Linked DNA regions of Homo sapiens: region 1 is linked to region 2. Evidence: promoter capture Hi-C in 16 types of primary human blood cells and fetal thymus (Javierre and others, 2016). All regions are on one chromosome and are shown on one strand. Each heading gives the region's core, a stretch centred on a gene start or on the middle of the fragment in contact. The rest is flanking DNA. Distances are from core to core; before and after follow the strand shown. Region 1 overlaps SLC4A5 (solute carrier family 4 member 5). Region 2 holds the start of C2orf81 (chromosome 2 open reading frame 81).

The links. Contacts are between HindIII fragments. The CHiCAGO score rates a contact against its expected background, and 5 or more counts as called.
Region 1: a contact is called between a fragment that was not itself captured here and the fragment with the promoter of C2orf81 in region 2, in 4 of 17 cell types (naive CD4 T cells, total CD8 T cells, naive CD8 T cells and 1 more). The highest score is 6.4, in naive CD4 T cells.

What each region holds. Positions count from the first base shown.
Region 1 is chr2:74,248,533-74,254,557 of GRCh38, reverse strand. SLC4A5 (solute carrier family 4 member 5) reads left to right here. Exons shown (of 31, transcript NM_133478.3): 15 at 1,430-1,584; 16 at 2,170-2,379; 17 at 4,041-4,215. Among named protein-coding and RNA genes, the nearest start is that of MTHFD2, 53 kb to the right of the region's middle. RefSeq lists enhancers at 3,977-4,036, 4,087-4,256. The HindIII fragment of the contact is 4,323 bases long and covers 1-4,282 here.
Region 2 is chr2:74,417,046-74,423,740 of GRCh38, reverse strand. It overlaps C2orf81 (chromosome 2 open reading frame 81), which reads left to right and starts at 2,122. Exons shown (of 3, transcript NM_001316764.3): 1 at 2,122-2,198. The coding sequence starts at 2,181. WDR54 (WD repeat domain 54) reads right to left here and starts at 2,011. Exons shown (of 10, transcript NM_032118.4): 1 at 1,925-2,011; 2 at 1,366-1,588; 3 at 809-871; 4 at 356-422; 5 at 210-263. The coding sequence starts at 1,587. It also overlaps the pseudogene HMGA1P8. RefSeq lists an enhancer at 1,332-1,511 and a silencer at 1,912-2,191. The HindIII fragment of the contact is 12,224 bases long and covers 1-3,125 here.

The DNA of each region.
Region 1 (6,025 bases), core at 872-3,371, 170 kb after region 2:
CTTCATTCATTAACTTATCCAGCCAGCACATTTGAGCACCTACTGTGTACCAGGCACTACATAGGATGCTAAAGATTATGAGAATCAGGGAATAGTCATTGTCCTTTAGGAGAACCAATCAAGTGTGAGGGACAGATTGATAATTGTAAAACTAACCATGTGCTAGCTGCCCAGGGGGTCAAGGAGGGCTTCACAGATGAGGGGGCTTTAAAGCTAAGGAGGAGCAGGAGGAAGGTAGACCCAGCACCAGGCTGTGAGGCAAGCATTCCAAACAAAGGAAATGGATCAGGCTCAGAGAAGCTGGATGGAGGTGGTTTGATATAGGCTCAGTGTAAGAGCTTCAAGGGCAGGAGGTAATACTGGAGAGGTGAGCCAGAGACTACACAGAGCCTGTAAGCAGAGCTGAGTCACACTCTGTCCCCAGAGTGATGGGGAGCCTAGAGGACTTTAACTCTTTTTCCGTTTGTGCCAAGAATACTCACTGGCGGTGCTTGCGGCTGCAGGCTTTACCCTGAGATAACTTTTCCCCACGAAATGTCTCACTTTTATTATTATTTTTGCATTGCTCTTATATGTTGACTTTGGAAACAAAAGACATCATTCTACTTAAAGCATTCTGTTTTTAGTTGTGGCATTTCCATTTACAAAATACACTAACTCTCAATCATTGAAAATATCAAATCCTAGAAAACTAGCATTCCTACGAGTGATGCTAACATCATTCTCGAACAGTTTTTGGCCTAAGATTCATTTGATGAATCCAGTGTTTCCAAAATAGATGATTCTGATCATTCCAATGATTCCAATGTTAGTTCTTTTTAGAAATAATTCTAAGAATAATTTTTATATTGCATTTTCACATTGAAAATCAGTCAGATTTGCTTCGGCCTCAAAGAGTGTGTTTATGTAAAATTAAATGAGTGCTGGCAGTGAGCTGCACTTTTTTTTTTTGCCTAAATGGGAAAGGGTTAAATGTGAGCATAGTCCCATCGAATCTGTAAGTCAGAAAGCACACTCTGGAGACAGTGTGAAGAACACGGCCTGAGCCTCCAAGGGCGAAGGGCTGGAAGTAAAAAATGGTTATGAAATATCTGAGCTCCTTGGACTGGGCTCTACAAAGGTTTTCTAATATGTATGATGTGTGGAAAACTGAAAACAGAAAGGTTAAGTAACTTAACCGAAGTCCTACAAGCAAGAATATGGAGACCTGGCCTTCAGATCCAAGAGAGGCTGTCTTCCCCCAGTGCCTGCTGTGTCCCATTGTGCCATATTTTACCAATGTACTATAGTCTCATTCCAAAAACTGAGAGTGAGTTGGCAGTGGGAGATGTGGTTCAAAGGGATTCCTTTAAAAACTAGATGTGATATGCTCCCAGGCATTTCAGAAACAGACCCGATCTTTCTTTTCTCCCTCCTCTCTCCTCGCCAGCTCTTCAGTGACGTGGCCTACAAAGCCCGCAATCGGGAAGATCTGATCGCAGGAATTGATGAATTTCTGGATGAGGTCATCGTCCTTCCTCCTGGAGAATGGGACCCAAATATCCGGATTGAGCCCCCCAAGAAGGTGCCCTCTGCTGACAAGAGGTGTGTATGAGAATGGGCAGTAGGGAGAGAAAAAGGAGGCTTCAACTCTGTCGGTATCATTTTATTTCTCTTTAAAATACATCTGAGGCTCAGCATAGTGGCTCATGCCTGTAATCTCAACACTTTGGGATGCTGAGGCAGGTGGATCACTTGAGCCCAGGAGTTTGAAACCAGCCTGGGCAACATAGTGAGATCTTGTCTCTACAAAACAAAAATCAAATTAACTGGGCATGGTGGCATGCACCTATAGTCCCTGCTACTCTGGAGGCTGAGGCAGGAGGATTGATTGAGCCCAGGAGGTCAAGGCTGCAGTGAGCTGTGATCATGCCACTGTACTCCAGCCTGGGCAACAGAGTTTGACCCTGTCTCAAAATAATGTTTAAAATAAGTTTAAAAATAATAAGATATATCAGAAACAAATATGGCTAAATGTGAACATTTGTAAAATCTAGGTGACCTGCGTGTGGATATTGTTAGACAATTTTCTGCATTTTTGTCTGTCTTTTAAGATATTTCATAATTTTGGTTGGAGAGGTGAGGGGTGCTCTGGGGGACCCACTCTCCTTCATCCCCCTTCTCTTCCAGGAAATCTGTGTTCTCCCTAGCAGAGCTGGGCCAGATGAATGGCTCTGTGGGAGGAGGCGGCGGAGCTCCTGGAGGAGGCAATGGAGGTGGTGGTGGTGGTGGCAGTGGCGGCGGGGCTGGCAGTGGCGGGGCCGGCGGAACAAGCAGCGGGGATGATGGAGAGATGCCAGCCATGCATGAAATCGGGGAGGAACTTATCTGGACAGGAAGGTGCCCACCCCAGGCCTCCCAGTGACCCTGCTGTCCTTTAGACTTCTCCCTTCTCAGCTGCCCTCTAGGGACTTTTCCCAACCATGGTCTGTAGTGCCCACTCGAGGTCACCCCTGCCTTCTTTCCCTCCCAGAGCCCTTGAACCCCATCATGGATCCCCAAAAGGTTGCCTCAGGAGAGGGGAATTTGAGACCCATACAAGAGGAGAGGAACCCAAACTTTTCTCTTAGATATCCTTTGGTGCCTGTTTCCTGGGTCTGCTGTAACAAAGTACCACAAACTAGGTGGCTTAAAACCACAGAAGGTTACTCTCCTGCAGTTCTGGAGGCCAGGAGTTCCACAGCAGGTGTTGGCAGGACCACCGTGCTCCCTGAGGCTCCAGGTGGAATCCTTCCTGGCCTCCTCCTGGCTTCTGGTGGTGGCCAGCAGTCCTTGGTGTTCCTGGCTGGCAGCCGCATCACCCCCGGCTCTGCCTCTCCACCACATGGCCTCCTGTGTGTCTGTCTTCACAGAGCACTTTCCTCTTTGTGTATGGACCCCAGTCATGTTGGAATAGGGCCCACCATAATGACTTAATCTAAACTGGATTACATTTGCATAGGTGTTACATAGATGTTAGGACCTTAATATATCTTTTGGGGGGACACAACTCAATAACAGTACCTTTTTTAAAACTTAATTTACCTATTCAAAAACTTTTTTTTTTTTTAAAGAAAATAAGAGAAAGTTCTCCTGGCCTGGGTTTCTTTTCCAGCTCTTGGAGTCATTCAGGTTGATCTAGATTTAGGAAAGGATGTGGCCTTGAAAATCTACATATAAATCATGACTTTGAGAATGAAGTCATGTTTTATATGCCCTTGGCTTTATACCAGTGGTTCTCACTGTAAGCAGCTTTGGCCCTCCTTAGTCCCCCTACCCCCGAGCCCAGGGAATTTGGCAATGTCCAGAGACATTTTTGCTTGTCACAACCGGAGAGGGGAGATGCTACTCGCATCTAGTAGGTAGCTGCTAAACATCCTGCAGTGCATGGGACAGCCCCTGCAGCAAAGGAGTATCCAGTCCAAAATATCAGCAGAACTGAGGTTGAGAAACTCTGCTCCATGCTAAGGACTGCATTAGGGGCTATGGGAATAGCAATCCCAGTAAACAGTGTCTCCAAACCTAAAATCTTCCACTCAGCTGTTCCAGATAGCAAAATCAAAAAACAAACAAATACCAACCAGTTATAAGGTTTAGGATCTGTTCTTAATGAATCTGTTATAATCTGGGATGCTTCTGTCACCGAAAGTTAGACACTCCTGTGTTCACCAAGAGCAGGCACCCTGCAGATGGTCAGGGATGTGAGGAGGACCACCATCTGTGGACCCCAGGACTTCCATTCTCCATGGAATGTTAGGTCTACCCCAGGACATATTCCCATCAGACTTTCCCTCTCCAAAACCCTCTATGTCCACCCTTCCCAATGTGGGTGGTGCCAACCACAAACTCAGTCCTACAGGAATTCATCCCTGGCCCTAAATGTTCTGGTGGAAAGATCTTTGCCCCATCCACCCTGGTCAAGTTCCTTTCCTCGCCCCAGACTCTGCAAGTTCTTGTAAATAGCCCTGCCCCTGCACTGGTGTTAGTGGTGAGAAAGCAGCCCCTGGGCCTGTCTTGAGCAGGTTCTTCGGTGGCCTGTGTCTGGATATCAAGAGGAAGTTGCCCTGGTTCCCAAGTGACTTCTATGATGGCTTCCACATTCAGTCCATCTCTGCCATCCTATTCATCTACCTCGGCTGTATCACCAACGCGATCACCTTTGGTGGGCTTCTGGGGGATGCCACCGACAATTATCAGGTGTGTGCGAGCCGGTGCCCTGAGTGTAAAAGTAAGATCTGCCGCCACCTGGTGGCAGCAGGAAGCTTCATCCTGTAATCCCAAAACCAAGGTTTCATCTACCATCCAGGTTGAGGCCATCACTATTTGTAATCCTTTACGCTTCAAGTAATAATAATATAATAAGACAATATTAAAAGATCTGAAGCTAAATCTCATTACTAAAGACCAAACTTAATGATTATTTAAATAGGTCAAACCGTTAAGGGGAATCATCTGCTGTGTTATTTGGTACTTTTCCCACTGATGCTGGAGTGAATTTAATCAGCACAATTAATGGAGTGCTAATTGTGGCCTTCTCCCCACACTTTTTAAAAACTAACCTTGAATTCTTAGTTTGGAGTTAAGACATTTTTAGAAGGATGGTAAGCTGTTGCCATGACAACAACTCAGGCCTCCCTGGGGAAAACAGCTCAGCAGACACCTGCCAATCTCCTAGGCAAGGGTCTTCTCCAATGGAGGCCTTCAAAGTAGAGCCATTGGAAAGCTCAGTACCCCAAGGAGAAGACCCATTTGTCAAGCTGCCTTTTGGGCATGTCCACATGGCTGCCCCTCAGGATTCCCCATGGCTGCCCCTCAGGATCCCCCAGTTCACACAGCTGACATTGCGTCCCTTATCTTCCCTCCTGACGTGCTGCTCCCTGCCCTTCCCCAGCACAGCAGGTGATACCGTGGTTCACCCAGCTGTCTACACCGGAAACTAAGCATTATCCTTGACTCATAAGTCCCAGCTGCCCCATGTGGCCCTCACCACATGGCCCTACCTGGCTCTCACGCCTCATCTCCCAGCATTCTCTTTCTCAGCATTCCTACCCTCCCCAACCATTCTACATTCTGTTTTCCATCAATCCTGATCATCTTTTGGTTCTTCAAGTACATGCTGTTTTTCAGCTCCAGACCTTTTAGACACTATTCCCTCTTCCTGGGACACTGTTTCTTATCACTCCACTTAACCCTATTCCCCTGGCCAATTCTCTGCTCATTTTTTGGATCTCAGCTTCCACTTATCTACTTCTAGGGAGGCCTTCCTGACTACATCTTTACCTCTACTGCGTGCTCCTGTGGCACCCTAAACCTATCCCAGCACACCTCTTGGCAGTGGCTCTCAACCAGGGACAATTTTCACCCCAGGAGACATTTAACAATATCTAGAGACAGTTTTCATTGTTATAACTGGGAGGAGGGTTCCTACTGGTATCTAATGTGTAGAGGCTGTGGATGCTACTAAACACACTACAATACACAGGACAGACCCTCCACAGCAAAGAATCATCTAGCCCAAAATGTCCATTGTGCCGAGGTTGAGAAACCCTGCTATATGGGAATTGCCTGGTTACTTACCTGTGTCTCCCACTGGAATGAAGATATGTTATCTTGTTCAGTGATGGGTTCTCAATACCTTTCACAATGCCTGGTACACAGCAGACACTCAGCGGACTTTGAATAAATGAATGATCTGACCTCTAAAAGCACCAAACAGATGTTTAGATGAATGAATAATCAGATGGATAAATGGGCTGTCCTCTGGGAGTAGAATGGACACAGAGAAAAGCACATCCACTGTTTTCTAGGCCCTGGGTGCCAGAAGGAAGTCACATGGTACCTTTATCTAGATGGAATTAAACAGAGTGACAATGGCCATGGTGGCAAGTTGTGGAGGGTGTAGGAGATGGAGAACAGGATTTAGGGAGGAAAGGGCCCAGAACGAAGGATAAACACTGTGGCCTGGGCCCGTGGAGAGATCGCTGGGGCTGCAGCCTGTGTGGAGAGA
Region 2 (6,695 bases), core at 873-3,372:
GCTCCAACGGCCATGCCCCTTCATTCACTAGCCTTGTCTTATCCCACCCTGACCCTCTGAACCCTTCCATGGTTTACTGGAGTCTCTGATTCCACTCCACTTCCACCCTTCCCTCTAACTTTCCACAATTTCCTCAGGCCCTCATTATTCTCCTGGCCACAGCCCACATGCCCCAGCACCCCTCCATGCCCTGCACTTGGCTCCCTCACCCACACAGATGAAGTGGCCACTGGCAGCAATTCCCCGGGCAAACACAGCCTGTACTGAATATGAAAGGGGAGAATGATCAGAAATATCCCCTCCTGCAGCCCTAGCAAACACTCCCTGCCCCCACCCCACTTGGTCCTGCAGGTACCTGGGGAGGCATCTCCAGAGTCCAGTGCATGCCAGTAGACCATGGTGTAGCCATTGGACTCGTACATCTGGAAGACCGGGGCAAGAACCAGGGGGCATAACCCAACTGACCTCTGCTGAGTACTTCACATATCCGTGTTAGCCTTAGCCCATTTAATCCTCAAAACAAATCTGGGATGTAGGTACTATTTTTATCCTAATTTTTTCAGAGGACAACAGTGAGAGTGAGAAGTTAATAGTGTAAGGACATACAGCTAGTAAAGGGGCAGATACTGGAGGTGGCACTTGGAAACTGGAAAAGATGGAAAGATTGAAGATAAGAAATAGAAAAAGAGTGAGTGGGCCAAGCATGTGAAAAGTCTGGAAGTGTTTAGAGGCAAGTGGGAAAGTCTGGAAGCCTGGCAGGGAAGCTGAGAAGGCTCTGGTGGGGCAAGCAGGAGAGTCCTCTTCTTACCTGTATTCCTCGATGTGAGGTGAGTACCAGCAGCACTCGGAAGGGGAGGACACACCAGTGGACCTGGAGGGAGGTGCATCAGTGTAGGGAGAAAATCAAAGCAGGGAAGATGAGTTTGTTTGTTTTTTTTTTTTTTTTGGGGGACGGAGTCTTGCTCTGTGGCCCAGGCTGGAGTGCAGTGGCGCCATCTCGGCTCACTGCAACCTCAGCCTCCTGGGTTCAAGCGATTCTCCTGCCTCAGCCACCCAAGTAGCTGGGATTACAGGTGCACGCCACCACACCCGGTTAATTTTTTTTGTATTCTTAGTAGAGAAGAGGTTTCACCATGTTGGCCAGGCTGGTCTCGAACTCCTGGCCTCAAGTGCCCGTCTCAGCCTCCCAAAGTGTTGGGATTACAGGCGTGAGCCACCGCGCCCGGCAGGAGAGGGGAGATTCTGAGGTTAGGACATGCCTGGGGAGATTCTGAGGTTAGGACATGCCTGCTCCTGAAGGTTTGGAGAGAAAAGGCTGGGGGTAGGACTGGGTTCAGCAACATCACTCCCAGCTCCATGCCTCACCTGAGTGATAAGTGGGGGACTCACTCCAGCACCCTCCTTAGCGTGGAGCTGGCGCTGGGCCAAGGGCACACCCTCAGGAGCAGCGCTGAGAAGCTGGGCGCTTGGTCCATGAACCACGCCAAAATACGTGAGGTTGCGAGCCGGCAGCTGCAGCACACTGAGGTTGTTGCACAGGGCGGCGGCCGAGCCTCGCAGGGGAATGGAGCGCTCCCAGCGGAACATCCTGTGTGGGGGTGCAGCCGAATCACCAGGCGCGCTACAAACAGACGCAGCGGAGATGCCCGAGGGCGGCTATCATCGAGCATTTCGGAAGATGCCTGAGACTGGGTCATAGGATGGGGTGCCCAGAGGACGGTGATGGGGGAGGGTCTCGAGGAGCAAGACAGGGGAGTCCCAGGGCTGTTTTGGGGCGACGGGGGAATCGCAGAGGAGGAATGGGGATGACACAGGACCACCCGATGGCCCCAAGCCCGCGAGCCAAATAAGTGTGATGAAGCCCCCAAGGCTTTCTCCCTCGGCTCGGATCCCTGAAGCCCCCGGCCTAGATCAGAGGTAACACCTGCAGCCCCAGATCGGCTCGCCTGACTCCTGGTTCGTAGGGTCCCTCCAAATCCGCCGCCACCATAGAGACGACGCACGTACGCACGGCCCTTGGGCGGGGTGAGCGGCCGGAACGTGCCGCGGGCGGCGCGGTTGCCGGGGCAACTGTGGGCGGGGCGAGCGACCCCGAGCCCGTGGTTGCCCAGGCGACTGTTAGGTGGCTTACGCGGCCCGGATGCAGCAGAAACACCAGCGTTGCTGCGACCGCGTTGGCGATGGCGCACGAAGGCTCGGTGAGCTTCAGTTCAGCTGGGGATGCGCCAGAGCCAGGGTCGGCCGTTAAGGTCGGTGTCGGGAACAGTGGGCTGGCTCTGGGCCGCCCAGTGCCCCTACTTGCTCCCGCCCACCGCGCGGGAGTTTAGATGACCAAGGAAGCCACGTCGGTACTCGGGCAGAAAACCTACACCTGCACGGTGCCCACTCAAACGCTTTGTTACACTCAAGCCATGAGGGAAAGGGTCAGTGGGTGGTGTAGAGCCCGAGAACAGGAAGTGGATTTTGAAACAGCTAATGAATGTAGTAAGTCTCTTACATGGTGGTGCGTATTTAAATGGATGAGCATTTAGAGAGGGAAGATAACAGAAAAAATCTATTTCGAGAATTTCAAGAGGAAGAAATATATTAAATAATTCAGAGACTGCACTTGAAAGTCAAATTGTTTAAGAGCCAATCAATTTTAAAATAAAGAAAACGGGGCCGGTCTCAATGGCTCATGCCTGTAATCCCAGCACTTTGAGAGGCTGAGGCGGGAGGATTGCCTGAGCTCAGGAGTTCAAGACCAGCCAGGCCAACATGGCGAGACCCCGTCTCGACTAAAATACAAAAAATTAGCTGGATGTGGTGGCGCGGTGCCTGTAATCCCAGCTACTCGGGAGGCAGAGGCAGGAGAATTGCTTGAACTCGGGAGGCGGAGGTTGCAGTGAGCCGAGATCGCGCCACTGCGCTCTAGCCTGGGTGACAGAGAGAGACTGTCTCAAAAAAAAAAAAAAAAAAAAAAAAAAAAGAAGAAGAAGAAAGAAAACGGATTTGAAGAGCCTTTGTGCAAAAATATCTCTGTCCCTTCTGGTCACCATCACGGGTGTCAGATGCGAGGCTGGGAGGGGAGGTCTAAGGAAACAACTCTCTTTACTCAGTCCAGTCAGCCCTGCTCTAGTCAAGCTTGGCCTGGGCTATGGGCCACTCCTGGTGCTTGCTACAGGGCTGTTCTCACTGGTGGATAGGGTTAATGAGACTTCAGGGATTTTGAGTTCTGCAAGACTTAGGAAACAGCAGATTTGGGGGGATAATGAATTTTAGGAAACAGATATGAGACAAGGTTTTAGCGGGGCAATAGGCAAAGGTTTGGGAAGATCACATTTGGAAGTACATTTTGGAAGGAACCAGGTTCAGGGAGACTGTTGTGGGGAATTGAGGGAGCTCCCAAGAGATTGTTTGTAAACTTTTTATGTCTCTAAAGTGAGTTTTGGGGACTAGTCTTTTTTTTTTTTTAAGTGATTACAAAAGGAAACAAACTCATTGTAGAGAACTTACAAAATAGAAAAGAGCATAGGAAGGAAACGTATCCTCTGTTATCATTTTGAAGTTTTCCTTTTGTTGAACACATAGTGGTTTACATATATGAGATCATAATTGATGTGTAAGTTTGTATCCTGCTTCTTTCAATTAACGTTACATCATAAACATTTGCTTTATGCCATTGCAAATTCTTTCTAAAGATTACCTTTAATGGCTGGGTTGGTGGCTCATGCCTGCAAGGTGGGCAGATCACTTGAGGCCAGTTCAAGACCAGTCTGGCCAACATGGCGAAACCCCATCTCTACTAAAAATAGAAAAAAAATTAGCCAGGCCTGGTGGCAGGCGCCTGTAATCCCAGCTACTCCGGAGGCTGAGGCAGGAGAATTGCTTGAACCTGGGAGGCAGAGGTTGCAGTGAGCCGAGATCTTGCCACTGCACTCCAGCCTGGGTGACAGAGCGAGATTCCGTCTCAAAAACAAAAACAAACAAACAAAAAAAGATTACCTTTAATCATTGCATAATATTTCAGTATATATAGCATGTCAATTATTTATTCTCTTTTTAAAGACATGTTTTCAATATTCTGCTATTATAAAAATACCGCAGAGAATTTGTTGGAGAATATATTTTTATCTTCATTTCAGAAAATGCCTTTTGGTTGTATTTATAGAACTGAAATTGCAGGGTTGAGGAAGTGAAAACATTTTTTAATGTCTTCATGCATACTGTTGCAGCATGGTATCACACTAAACCTTTGCCAATGCTGAGTATTCTTGTTTTTAAAATAATTCCAATTTGATGAACTAGAAATCAGAATGTCAATACTATATTTATTAGTCATCTACAGTCCCTCTCTTGTGAAATGTCATGTCCTTTGCTTATCTTTGGGATCTTAAATGGTTTTTCTTCTTATAGTTTAAATTTTTATTGCAATATAGCCCAAGCTGGACTTGAACTCCTGGGCTCAAGCAATCCCCCTGCCTCAGCCTCCCGAGCAGCTGGTACTGTGGGTGTGCGCCACTGTGCCTGGCCATTTTTCTTCTTCTATTTTTTATTTTATTAGTTTTTTTTTTCTTTTTTGAGACAGAGTCTCGCTCTGTCACCCAGGCTGGAGTTCAGTAGCATGATCTCAGCTCACTGCAAACTCTGCCTCCCGGGTTCAAGTGATTCTCGTGCCTCAGCCTCCCTAGTAGCTGGAATTACAGGCGCCCACCACCATGCCTGGCTAATTTTTGTATTATTAGTAGAGACGGGGTTTCACCATGTTGGCTAGGCTGGTCTCGAACTCCTGACCTCAAATGATCCACCCACCTCGGCCTCCCAAAGTGCTGGGATTACAGGCGTGAGCCACTGCGCCCGGCCATTTTTTTTTTTATATGAGCTTTTAATTTACTCGGGGATATTTATCTTTTTTCATATTTGTTGCAAATGTCTTTGAGAGGCTCTGGAGTCAGACAGACTTGCATGTGAATGCATTCTGACTTCACTACATCCTACTTGTATGATACTGGGTAAATTACCATAAAATGGAGATAAGAATAGTTGGTTAAAAAAAAAAAATGTAGAGAACTTTTTAAGCTCCCCTGAGCCGGGGCTGTGCTCTTCTAAGTGGGACTCCGAGCCTGGGCTATTTCTGGCGCTGGCGCGGCTCCAGGAAGGCATCCGCATTTGCGACCAGGGGCGGCTGCGGTGGAGACTGGCCTGTCCTCAGCGCCCAGCACCGCTGCTCCCGGCAAACCGGAGCATGCACCGCAGGCCAGCGGCCGAGTTCGCCCATCCCAGCCATCACTTTTCCAACTAGTCCTTAGAGAAGGGAAGATGAGCGAGTCGAGCTCGAAGTCCAGCCAGCCCTTGGCCTCCAAGCAGAAAAAGGACGGCACTGAGAAGCGGGGCCGTGGCAGGCCGCGCAAGCAGCCTCCGGTGAGTCCCAGGACAGCGCTGGTAGGGAGTCAGAAGGAGCTCAGCGAAGTGCCAACACCTAAGAGACCTCGGGGCCGACCAAAGGGAAGCAAAAACAAGGGTGCTGCCAAGACCGGGAAAACCACCACAACTCTGGGAAGGAAACCAAGGGGAAGACCCAAAAAACTGGAGAAGGAGGAAGAGAAGGGCATCTCGCAGGAGTCCTCACTGGAGGAGCAGCTTCCTTCTGGGACTGGACAGCTTTGATCTGCTCCCAACCCCCCACCTCCCACCCCCCACCCCTTCCCTACACCCACCATCACCACCGCCTCCAGCCACCACCCTCATCTTCCACCTGCACCTTCACCACCACACTACACAACACACCAGCCGCTGCAGGTCCCTATGGGCTGAGTGGAGAGGACTTTTCCCCTGGCCTCTTCCCATCCCTACCCCCTCCTCCCCCCGTCCACCCACTCATACACATGTGCCCTCCTGGACAAGGCTAATGTCCTGCTTAGCCGCACCCTGCACCTGCTGCGTCCCTGATCCCTTGGTGGTGACATTGCTCTCTGGGCTTTTGGTTTGGGAGCCACTTCTCTGCTCCTCCACTGTTGCCTCTGGCTTCCCATAGAGGGGCCTGGGAGGGTTCCCCTGGTCTTAAAAGGGGCCCAAGCCCCCATTCTGGCACACCCCACTCCACTGTCCTGGCAGCAGCAGGTGTGGCCAATGGAGGGGGGTGCTGGCCCCCAGGATTCCCCCAGCCAAACTGTCTTTGTCACCACGTGAGGCTCACACCTTTCATCCTTCCCCACCTTCCCTAGTCCCTGCACTAGGTTGGACAGCCCCCATTGGCTACAGGAAAGCGGGAGGGGTGTGAGTCCCCTACTCCCTCTTTGCAGTGGCCCCAGCCCCCTTACCGTCTGCCTGGGATCTGAGTACATATTGCAGTGATGGAGATGCAGTCACCTATTGTCCAGGTGAGGCCCATGAGCCCTGTGGCAGCTACCTGAGGTGGGCTGGGGCTGCTCCCCCAACCCTACTTTGCTTCTACCACTTGGCCATTTTCCTCTCCTCAGATGGGGCACCAATAACAAGGAGCTCACCCTTCCCACTCCCAGCCCTCCTGCTCCTGCCACCCCCCCAGGTTCTGGTTCCATTTTTCCTTTGTTCACAAACTACCTCTGGACAGTTGTTTTGTTTTTGGTTCAATGTTCCATTCTTTGACATCTGTCATTGCTGCTGCTAGCAGCGCCAAATGTTCATCCACATTGCCTCCTGTTCTGCCCATGATCCCCTCCCCCAGGTTACTCTTC